2 separate regions of the Homo sapiens genome follow, and region 1 is linked to region 2. Evidence: promoter capture Hi-C in 16 types of primary human blood cells and fetal thymus (Javierre and others, 2016). All regions are on one chromosome and are shown on one strand. Each heading gives the region's core, a stretch centred on a gene start or on the middle of the fragment in contact. The rest is flanking DNA. Distances are from core to core; before and after follow the strand shown.

The links. Contacts are between HindIII fragments. The CHiCAGO score rates a contact against its expected background, and 5 or more counts as called.
Region 1: a fragment that was not itself captured here is called in contact with the fragment with the promoter of RPS29 in region 2 in 1 of 17 cell types (fetal thymus); the score reaches 5.6 in fetal thymus.

Annotation. Positions count from the first base shown.
Region 1 is chr14:50,776,608-50,781,023 of GRCh38, reverse strand. NIN (ninein) reads left to right here. Exons shown (of 31, transcript NM_020921.4): 6 at 2,220-2,259; 7 at 3,885-4,075. Among named protein-coding and RNA genes, the nearest start is that of NIN, 52 kb to the left of the region's middle. The HindIII fragment of the contact is 4,250 bases long and covers 1-3,587 here.
Region 2 is chr14:49,584,804-49,589,367 of GRCh38, reverse strand. RPS29 (ribosomal protein S29) reads left to right here and starts at 2,988. Exons shown (of 3, transcript NM_001032.5): 1 at 2,988-3,083; 2 at 3,319-3,418. The coding sequence starts at 3,022. It also overlaps RN7SL1. RefSeq lists enhancers at 2,428-2,937, 2,810-3,309, 3,908-3,957. The HindIII fragment of the contact is 6,928 bases long and covers 1,952-4,564 here.

The sequences.
Region 1 (4,416 bases), core at 213-2,712, 1.2 Mb before region 2:
TTCTTATGTGAAAACAATTCTGACCAGAAATGAGAATGTAAGAAAATTTATGAAGGACTGTTGACTTTACCACTTGCTCCCCATCCCCACCATGCCTCAGACATCCACTAGATTGGAGAGACGTCTTTATGTAGAAATGTAGGCTGAGTGAGCTGATGAAATTGTTATCACAAGCAAAAATCACACGTCCTAATTCACTTTTCATTGATGCCATGTTTATTAGTGACTTTCCATTGTAATCTGCATGAATTGTAGTGAACTTAAACATTTTGAGTTATGGCCTTTTGGTGTCTTCCATTTGTCAGCAACAACCCATCTCAGCATTGTCAGCTTGGTATGGCCAAATTAAATGAACTCTCTGAATTGATACTATCTTAAATATCTAACATGGACCTGTGAAACTGTGGTAGGTGGTTGGCCCTCATTTAAGAGGTGAGAACTACCACTAGTGAGTGTGGAGAATAAAGTAGATGAGCGTAGGTTGCCTGAAAGAAGAACTTCAACTCGTATTAACTTGAATGAACTACTGAAAAACAACATTTCATCTAAAAATTTTACGTGCCATACCATCTGTCATGAGGAATCCAAGTTCTAGAGACAGGTATTAATTAGGCTGACTTTCCTGTCGAGTTTATTTTCGGATTCTAAGCAATCAACTAGTCTTGTACAGGTCAGCTACCCAGAAAACGTGCTGGTTATTTGTTATCAAAGGCAGCTTCATTCATAAAGCTGGATCACTGCTATGACAGCAGCCCCGTTTGGAAAGGGCGATTCACCTTTTCTAACAGGGTTTTCTTTGATGGTTGTAGTAACCCCCCATAACAGTGATTAGTTTTAGGCAGTTTGCTGGAGAGGCTAAAGCCATTTGCTGGAAGCCACAGCCACTGTGGACCTACTTGTTGCAACTGGTCAAAAGACGACCTGTACTATCCCCGGGCAGTGGAGCAAGGGCTGGATTTCGGTCCTGACCTGTGCTCTTAGCGGGGCACTTTTATGCAGTACACAAATTACAACTGTATGCTGTGACTTTGGAGAAGAGGCAGGAGTAATGAAGCCTGATAAGGTGGCAAAATGGTCCAATTCAGATAAATTGAACTGCCTTTAATGTAATTTACTGGTAATGTACATTTTATACTTTCTCTAGCCTACTTATTTTAAGTTGCATCTCTCTCCTCACTATGCCACAGATACACTAGGCTCATTCTTGCCTCCTTGCTTCAGCAGATAACAACTGCCCCCCTTCTTTTCTTTTCTTTTTTTTTTTTTGAGACGGAGTCTCGCTCTGTTGCCCAGGCTGGAGTGCAGTGGCGCGATCTCGGCTTACTGCAAGCTCCGCCTCCCGGGTTCACGCCATTCTCCTGCCTCAGCCTCCCGAGTAGCTGGGACTACAGGCACCCGCCACCTCGCCTGGCTAATTTTTTGTATTTTTGGTAGAGATGGGGTTTCATTGTGTTGGCCAGGATGGTCTCGATCTCCTGACCTCGTGATCCGCCCACCTCGGCCTCCCAAAGTGCTGGGATTACAGGCGCAAGCCACTGTGCCCAGCCTGCCCCCTTCTTTTCATTTGGCTCTCTGCAGTTTATCCTTCAGGTCTCAGTTTAGACATTGCTTCTTCCCGATCTAACAAGTCTAAAGTATCCCATCTGCATAGCAACATAGCATCCTGAACTTCCTTGTCATAGCACTTAAAATACTACCCTGTTGTATTTCCTGTTTTCTTGTCTGCATGTCTTCATTAGCATATAAACTTCTTGGGGCAGGAAATATGTTTGTCCTGTTCATGGTTGTTCATGGTTGTATTACCAAGACCTAGCACAGTACCTAGCACAAAGAGAAGCACTCAGTACACATTTATTGAAGAATAAATTCATAAATGCATGTGTACAGATACTTGTTGGTTGATGGATACTGGATATTTGCTTTGGCTGGGTTTAATTGGTTGTGATAGGTTTTGCTGTTGAATAAGTGACCTAGCAAATGAGGACAAATCCTTGGTGAAATGCTGCAGAAGGCTGTGTGGTGTTTCTTAGGAGTCTCGTCCTGATTGGCTGGTTAACTGAAGAGAACTCATCTAGATGGATACACTAGAGAGTCCTGAAATTATGTGACTCACTTAGATGATGATTTCAGAGCCAGAGAGTGATCTGCTCTAGGAAAAGCTAGGATAGTTCTTTCTGAATAAGTTCTAAAGCACACTAATCTTCTCTTGCCTTCTCTAGCACTGGAAGACGCAACGCAGTGAGGAGTATGAAGCGGAAGGTAAGAGCCGAGTGTGTCAGGACGTGCCTGGAAGGGAAGGGCCGCCGGGTGCTCTCCACACCCGGTCTTTCTGATCTCTTATGCTGCAGGCCAGGGGAATTAACATTAAGAACAACAGCAACAAAAAATTTATTCCCAATTGATAGCTTTTAGTTTTAAAATCCTAGCATTTAGTATCATGCAAGAGATGGTAACTAAGATATATAATTTTACTTACGGGCTAATTTCTCTCTTATACAGACTTTCAGATTAATTTTCTAACAGTCTTAAATAGTGACCTATTAAAGTGCATCCCTTGGCCAGGTACAGTGGCTCACGCCTGTAATCCCAGCACTTTGGGAGGCCAAGGCAGGAGGATTACTGGAACGCAGTAGTTCATGACCAGCCTGGGCAACATGGCATACCCCGTCTCTACTAAAAATAGCCAGGTGTGGTAGCACATGCCTGTCGTCCCAGCTACTCAGAAGGCTGAGGTGGGAGAATCCATTAAGCCCGAGAGTTGGAGGCTGTAGTGAGCCGTGATTGTGCCACTGCACTCCTGCTTGGATAACAGAAGAGACTCTGTCTCAAAAAATAAAAATAACAATATAAATTAATTAATTAATTTAAAAATGCATCCCTTGACAAGTTTCAAATGTATTTAAGAAGCATCAGAACACGTTGATCCTCTGGCCACCAGATGGCACTGTGGTTCAGCTAACAGAACCTCAGCCCACTTCACAGCCCTCTGTGGATTAACTGTACTTAAGTGTAATTACAACCTGTTCTCTAGGTTGAAACGCCACAGCAGTAATGGGCTTAATTCCTGTCACTAAAGAGTGGGAGTAGCACTAAATACTGCTTTCAACCCTCTGAGGTTCTTCCAAGCACACAAAATTGTGCCAGTAATTATCTCATGTTTAAGTAATGACTTTACAGAATCTCTAATGTGTAAAGCAAAATTTAGAAGTGAGGGCTTTTAATAGAGAATAAATAAGAAGTTTTGATTTTTAAATAAGTAGTTTGATCCTTAAGTCTTCAAATGAAATTTAATGTATAGATAACTGGGAACTTATAGCTTGCAACCATTGATTTTTTTTTTTTAATTTCAGTTGGACTGTTGGTTTCTGTATGTCAGAATATTCATATGTAAGGATTTGGGAACAGGCTAATGTTGAGACTTTTATCATGAAATTATTTTCTTTTCAGTAAAAGATGCTGTAGTACTTAGGCTGGAAAGAAAGTGGAGGTAATACATTCTGGTAGCTATAGTTGAGATAGAGCTTACAGAGTTCTCGATAATGGCCCTCAACCAGCCTTCTTTCTCTATGATCACTATAGCCTAAGCTTGTGATGTGCTCAGCTGAAATAAAACAAGCCTAGAACTTTGCAGTATTGCACAGGAGATTATATTTATTACACCGGTATGACTGTCAGGGAGCCAAAAAGTACCCATTTACTCTAGTTGCAGCCTTAGAACCATTGATTCTGTTTCATGGGAGCTTCAGGACCAAATCAAAATGGAATTGACATTTATTGCCTTTTTCTTACAGTATTTATTTTCAAAAAGCACAGTTTTCTTTAAGAATAGGCACTCTCTCTTTGCAATTCCTTTGGAAACCGTGCAACATATGCTTCTCTCTCAGGCCAGTTAAGGTTTTGGAACCCAGATGACTTGAATGCTTCACAGAGTGGATCTTCCCCTCCCCAAGACTGGATAGAAGAGAAACTGCAAGAAGTTTGTGAAGATTTGGGGATCACCCGTGATGGTCACCTGAACCGGAAGAAGCTGGTCTCCATCTGTGAGCAGTATGGTTTACAGAATGTGGATGGAGAGGTAAGCCTCGCAGTATAATTCAGGAATGATAATGATGGTAAAAGTGTAGTTGACCACATGCTAGGAACAGCTGTAGTGTGGCTCTCTGCAGCTTGTTAGGCTCCATTTTCTTTTTTCCTAAGAAGTCATTCATGAAGATTCTGTCACTGAGGAGCTCTTGTTGTGTTGTGAAAAAGAAAAACTGACAAGAGCTGACACTTACCCAGCTATTGTAAGCTCACTGTGCTAGGCAGGTTACCCCATGTGAAACTGTCAGGCACTAGCTCTCTGTAGCCATGATGTCAGATGTATTTGTAGAGGTGCCATTCACAGAGTAAATTGTGGGAAACATGTGGAGGCAG
Region 2 (4,564 bases), core at 1,739-4,238:
CAAAAGAAAAATATTAGTAGGGTTATCTGGGCAAGGACATTATGGCACTTTTTTTTTTCTTTTTCTTTGCACTTCATTGTACATTTTTTAAAAAACAAAGAACCCAAACCCAATAAATATCCTATTAAAGGAAAATGTGTTCTAAAAGAAGAAGCATTTCAAACCCATGTATAAAAGAGAACTAAGATGGCTCACGCCTGTAATCCCAGCACTTTGGGAGGTCGAGGCGGGCGGATCATGAGGTCAGGAGATCGAGACCATCCTGGCTAACAGGGTGAAACCCTGTCTCTACTAAAAATACAAAAAGAAATTAGCCGGGCATGGTGGCGGGCGCTGTAGTCCCAGCTACTCGGGAGGCTGAGGCAGGAGAATGGCGTGAACCCGGGAGGCGGAGCTTGCAGTGGGCCGAGATCGCACCACTACACTCCAGCCTGGGTCACAGAGCGAGACTCCAGACTCCGTCTCAAAAAAAAAAAAAAAAAAAAAAAAAAGGACTCAGAAACTGTAAGAAGACTACAGGATTAAGATAAAAGCTCTTAGGCCGGGCGTGGTGGCTCACTCCTGTAATCCCAGCAGTTTGGGAGGCTGAGGTGGGTGGATTACTCGAGGTCAGGACTTCGAGACCAGCCTAGCCAACATGGTGAAACCCCATCTCTACCAAAAATGTAAAAAATTAGACGGGTGTGGTGGCACGTGCCTGTAATTTCAGCAACTCGGGAGGCTGAGGCAGGAGAATCCCTTGAACCCAGGAGGTGCAGGTTGCAGTTAGCCAAGATGGTGCCATTGCACTCCAGCCTGGGCGACAGAGTGAGACTCCGTCTCAAAAAAAAAGGAAAAAAAACAAAACAAAACATAAAAGCTCTTGATAAACACCGAGTTAAAATGAACTTTTAAAGCTGTGTTCTCAGTTTGTTGAAAAAGAAATGGATAATTTCATGGTTTGGGATAGATGGTGTCACATTATCTTAAAACTGAAAGGAAGTACGACGTCTTAGCTGCACTTTTGCAATATCTCTATCAAAGAGAATAATGTATAGACTAGAATAAGTATTAAGAATTACTTAAGTATTCAGATTAAGATTGTTGAAGTGCAACTAATTGCTTCTCATTTGTCTTTTTTTCTCTCCTAAATGAATTCACTTCTTTAGGCCCAAAGGCTTATATATCAGAGTACTAAAAATATTAATGGAATTGATCTCAGAACCACTGTAATGTTTTAAATATTGTGGAGACCAACTAGAAGAGGCCTAAGAAAGTGTGGACAAATGTTAGATTAGCTTTTGAGAGGCAAATGGCTTTTGGAAACCACACATTAGTGACTGATATAAATTATAGGAAAGTTGTAAAAGCTTGACATTGGATCTTGCCCAATGAGGCTTTAAAATAAAATACCTTTTCATTCCTATCACTAGGCCTTTTGTCCATCTTCTATTCTAGTTACACAAAGTTGTTCACCTTACCTTGGCTCAAGCGCTTCCTTTCACCAGGCATTCCCTTCTGTCAAGTGCTGCCTGTAGAAATCCCATTCTTCAAGGTCTACCTCAAAGGTCTCTCAAATGTACCTCGAACTGGAATTAATTTCTCTTCTTGGCTCCTTTCGTACTTCATGAGCACACCCATGATTTAATACAGAATATTTTCCTTAGCTGTACATATGTTGTTGGTGCACAAACGTTGTATGTTGAAGTCTTGGAGATAATCCTGTTTCCCACAGATTAGAAAATTTTGAGGGCAAGGAGCAAGTTATATCTAGTTTACAAATCTCTGACTCCCCTCCTTCCTTAATCATATAATACAATGCCTAACTTAATGATTGGGTAGGGGGACCCCACTAGAACCCTGACATAACATACCTTAAAGAAGTGTTGTATTTCAATTTATAAAAGTTTATATGTAAAAGTTTCTGGAATTGTTGCACCCTGTGCTACATTTTATAAATCTAGTTAAAGCTTTGATTTCAGAGCAGTTTTATCTGGAGGCATTATAAATGACCATATGGAATGTAGGTATCTTTCAGCAGAAATTCGTTTATTGACATTGGTTTTTTGCATTTTTGCATTTGCTTTTCATTACTTGTTTTGTCACCAAATTATCTGGTCAAAGCAACATACACTGCACATTACTTGTTTATTACTTTACATTCAGCCAATTACATTTAAGAATCAAATACACTAAATGCCAAAGAATCTCATTTTTTTTTGGAATGGTGTAGGTGTATTTCTTGGAGGAGTGTGTCAAAAAAATAAATTTGAAAACGTACTCTCTTTAACAAAATAAAAGCAAACCCTACCGTTGACTCGTGATCATTACAGCTGATTTTAAGTTGTTTTGTAAATTTATTCCAGTAGGTGTCACTGGTGAGTCGAGGAAAAACTCCTTTCCCAAGTGTAACGTTTTAATTAAAAGAAAGTAAAAGGTTTAATCAATAAAAAAGACTATGAGAATATTCATCTCTTGAGAGTCCAAAATTAACGTATTTATTGTTCAAAAGAGACGGGGTCTCGCTATGTTGCCCAGGCTGGAGTGCAGTGGCTATTCACAGGCGCGATCCCACTACTGATCAGCACGGGAGTTTTGACCTGCTCCGTTTCCGACCTGGGCCGGTTCACCCCTCCTTAGGCAACCTGGTGGTCCCCCGCTCCCGGGAGGTCACCATATTGATGCCGAACTTAGTGCGGACACCCGATCGGCATAGCGCACTACAGCCCAGAACTCCTGGACTCAAGCGATCCTCCAGCCTCAGCCTCCCGAGTAGCTGGGACTACAGGCACGCGCCACCGCGCCCGGCGGTCGGATACCGGCGCAGAATAGCACTAGAAGCTGTGGTATGGTGACGTCATCAACTGGGCCAGCCCACAACGCCTCTAAGATTTCATTTTACTCACCCAGCGAAACAACCTGACCACACTGCGCACGCGTTTCCTTTGAGCACTGCATTCTGGGTAAACTGTCTCAAAAATTTGAAGAGCGCATGCGTGGGCCAGCTTCTTCCTTTTACCTCGTTGCACTGCTGAGAGCAAGATGGGTCACCAGCAGCTGTACTGGAGCCACCCGCGAAAATTCGGCCAGGGTTCTCGCTCTTGGTGAGAAATAGTTTGTGATTTTGGGGAAGCGTTGCCGTGGAGCGCTAGGCTGCTTAAAATCTCAAGTAGAGGAGGCCACGGGCGGCACGAGGGAGCACGCCGACTGGGAGTCGCTGGTGCCGCCATTACAGGCCTGTACTGTGGCTTGGGAGTCCCGGGATGCGGGTAGTAGCCGTCTGAGTGCGGAGTCTTGTAATTTCTATGACCTGCAAAACCGCTGTCTCTTTTCTTACAGTCGTGTCTGTTCAAACCGGCACGGTCTGATCCGGAAATATGGCCTCAATATGTGCCGCCAGTGTTTCCGTCAGTACGCGAAGGATATCGGTTTCATTAAGGTAGGCGTCTGCAGGCGTACTCCATGTTGTTTGGGCAGAGAAGGTTGTGGGGGTTATTTTTTCCGCGAAAGACAAACGGACAGATCTTCCCTGGAGTGGTAATTCTGAGCATTCGACCAAGAGCTTTTCCTCTTTTTTTAGTTGGTAGCTGGTGACAGTGTTGATGGTTTGGGCAATCAAATTAATAGAATGGAGAAGGTGAAGGACTTAGTCTTTCCTACTCCCTTTTTTACCTAGATAGCTTAGCCAGTTTTAGGTGCCGTGTATTGTGTTTGGTGAAATTCACTTTAGAGAAGCCACTAAAATTGTTTTACATTTGTTTCATTTATCAATCTTGTAAGTACCTATTCTCTTTTTTTTTTTTTTAGAGATAGGGTCTCCCTCTGTCGCCCAGGTTGAAGTGCAGTGGCGTTGTTACGGCTCACTGCAGCCTCGAACTCCTCCTGGTCTCAGGCGATCCTCTTGCCTTGGCGTCCCGAGTAGCTGGGACTAAAGGCTCTTGCCACCACGCGCGGCTGTACCTAGATATTTTCTAACCAAATATATGTATTAACCGCTGACCCCAAGTTTTTTTTTTTTTTTTTTTGAGTCGGAGTCGCACTCACCCAACCTGGAGTGCGATGGCGTGATCTCCGCTCAGTGCAACCTCCGCCTCCCCGGTTCAAGCGATTCTCCTGCCTCAGCCTCCTGAATAGCTGGGATTACAGGCGCCTGCCACCATGTCCGGCTAATTTTTTTATTTTTAGTAGAGACGGGGTTTTACCATGTTGGTCAGGCTGGTCTCGAACTGCTGACCTCGTGATCCGCCTGCTTCGGCCTCCCAAAGTGCTGAGATTACAGGCGTGAGCCACCGCGCCCGGCCAACCCAAAATGTTTGAAAGCGTCATACACTGGAATGAACTTAAAGTTTGGGGCCGGAAAGACATTGTTAAGATTCAGCAAACAATGGTCTGCCATTTAGTGCTTCTATCTCTTGATCATCTTAGTCAAGCTAGTGTTTATATGAAACTTTTGACTGTGAAACTTTTGGCTTCTGAAAATCTTTTAAATAGTAGTTTGGGTTTTTTTTTTTAAGGTGAAAACGAATTTATTATTGGCTCTTTGAGATAAAAATCACCAGCTTTCTGATCAATTATTTTGTATTGG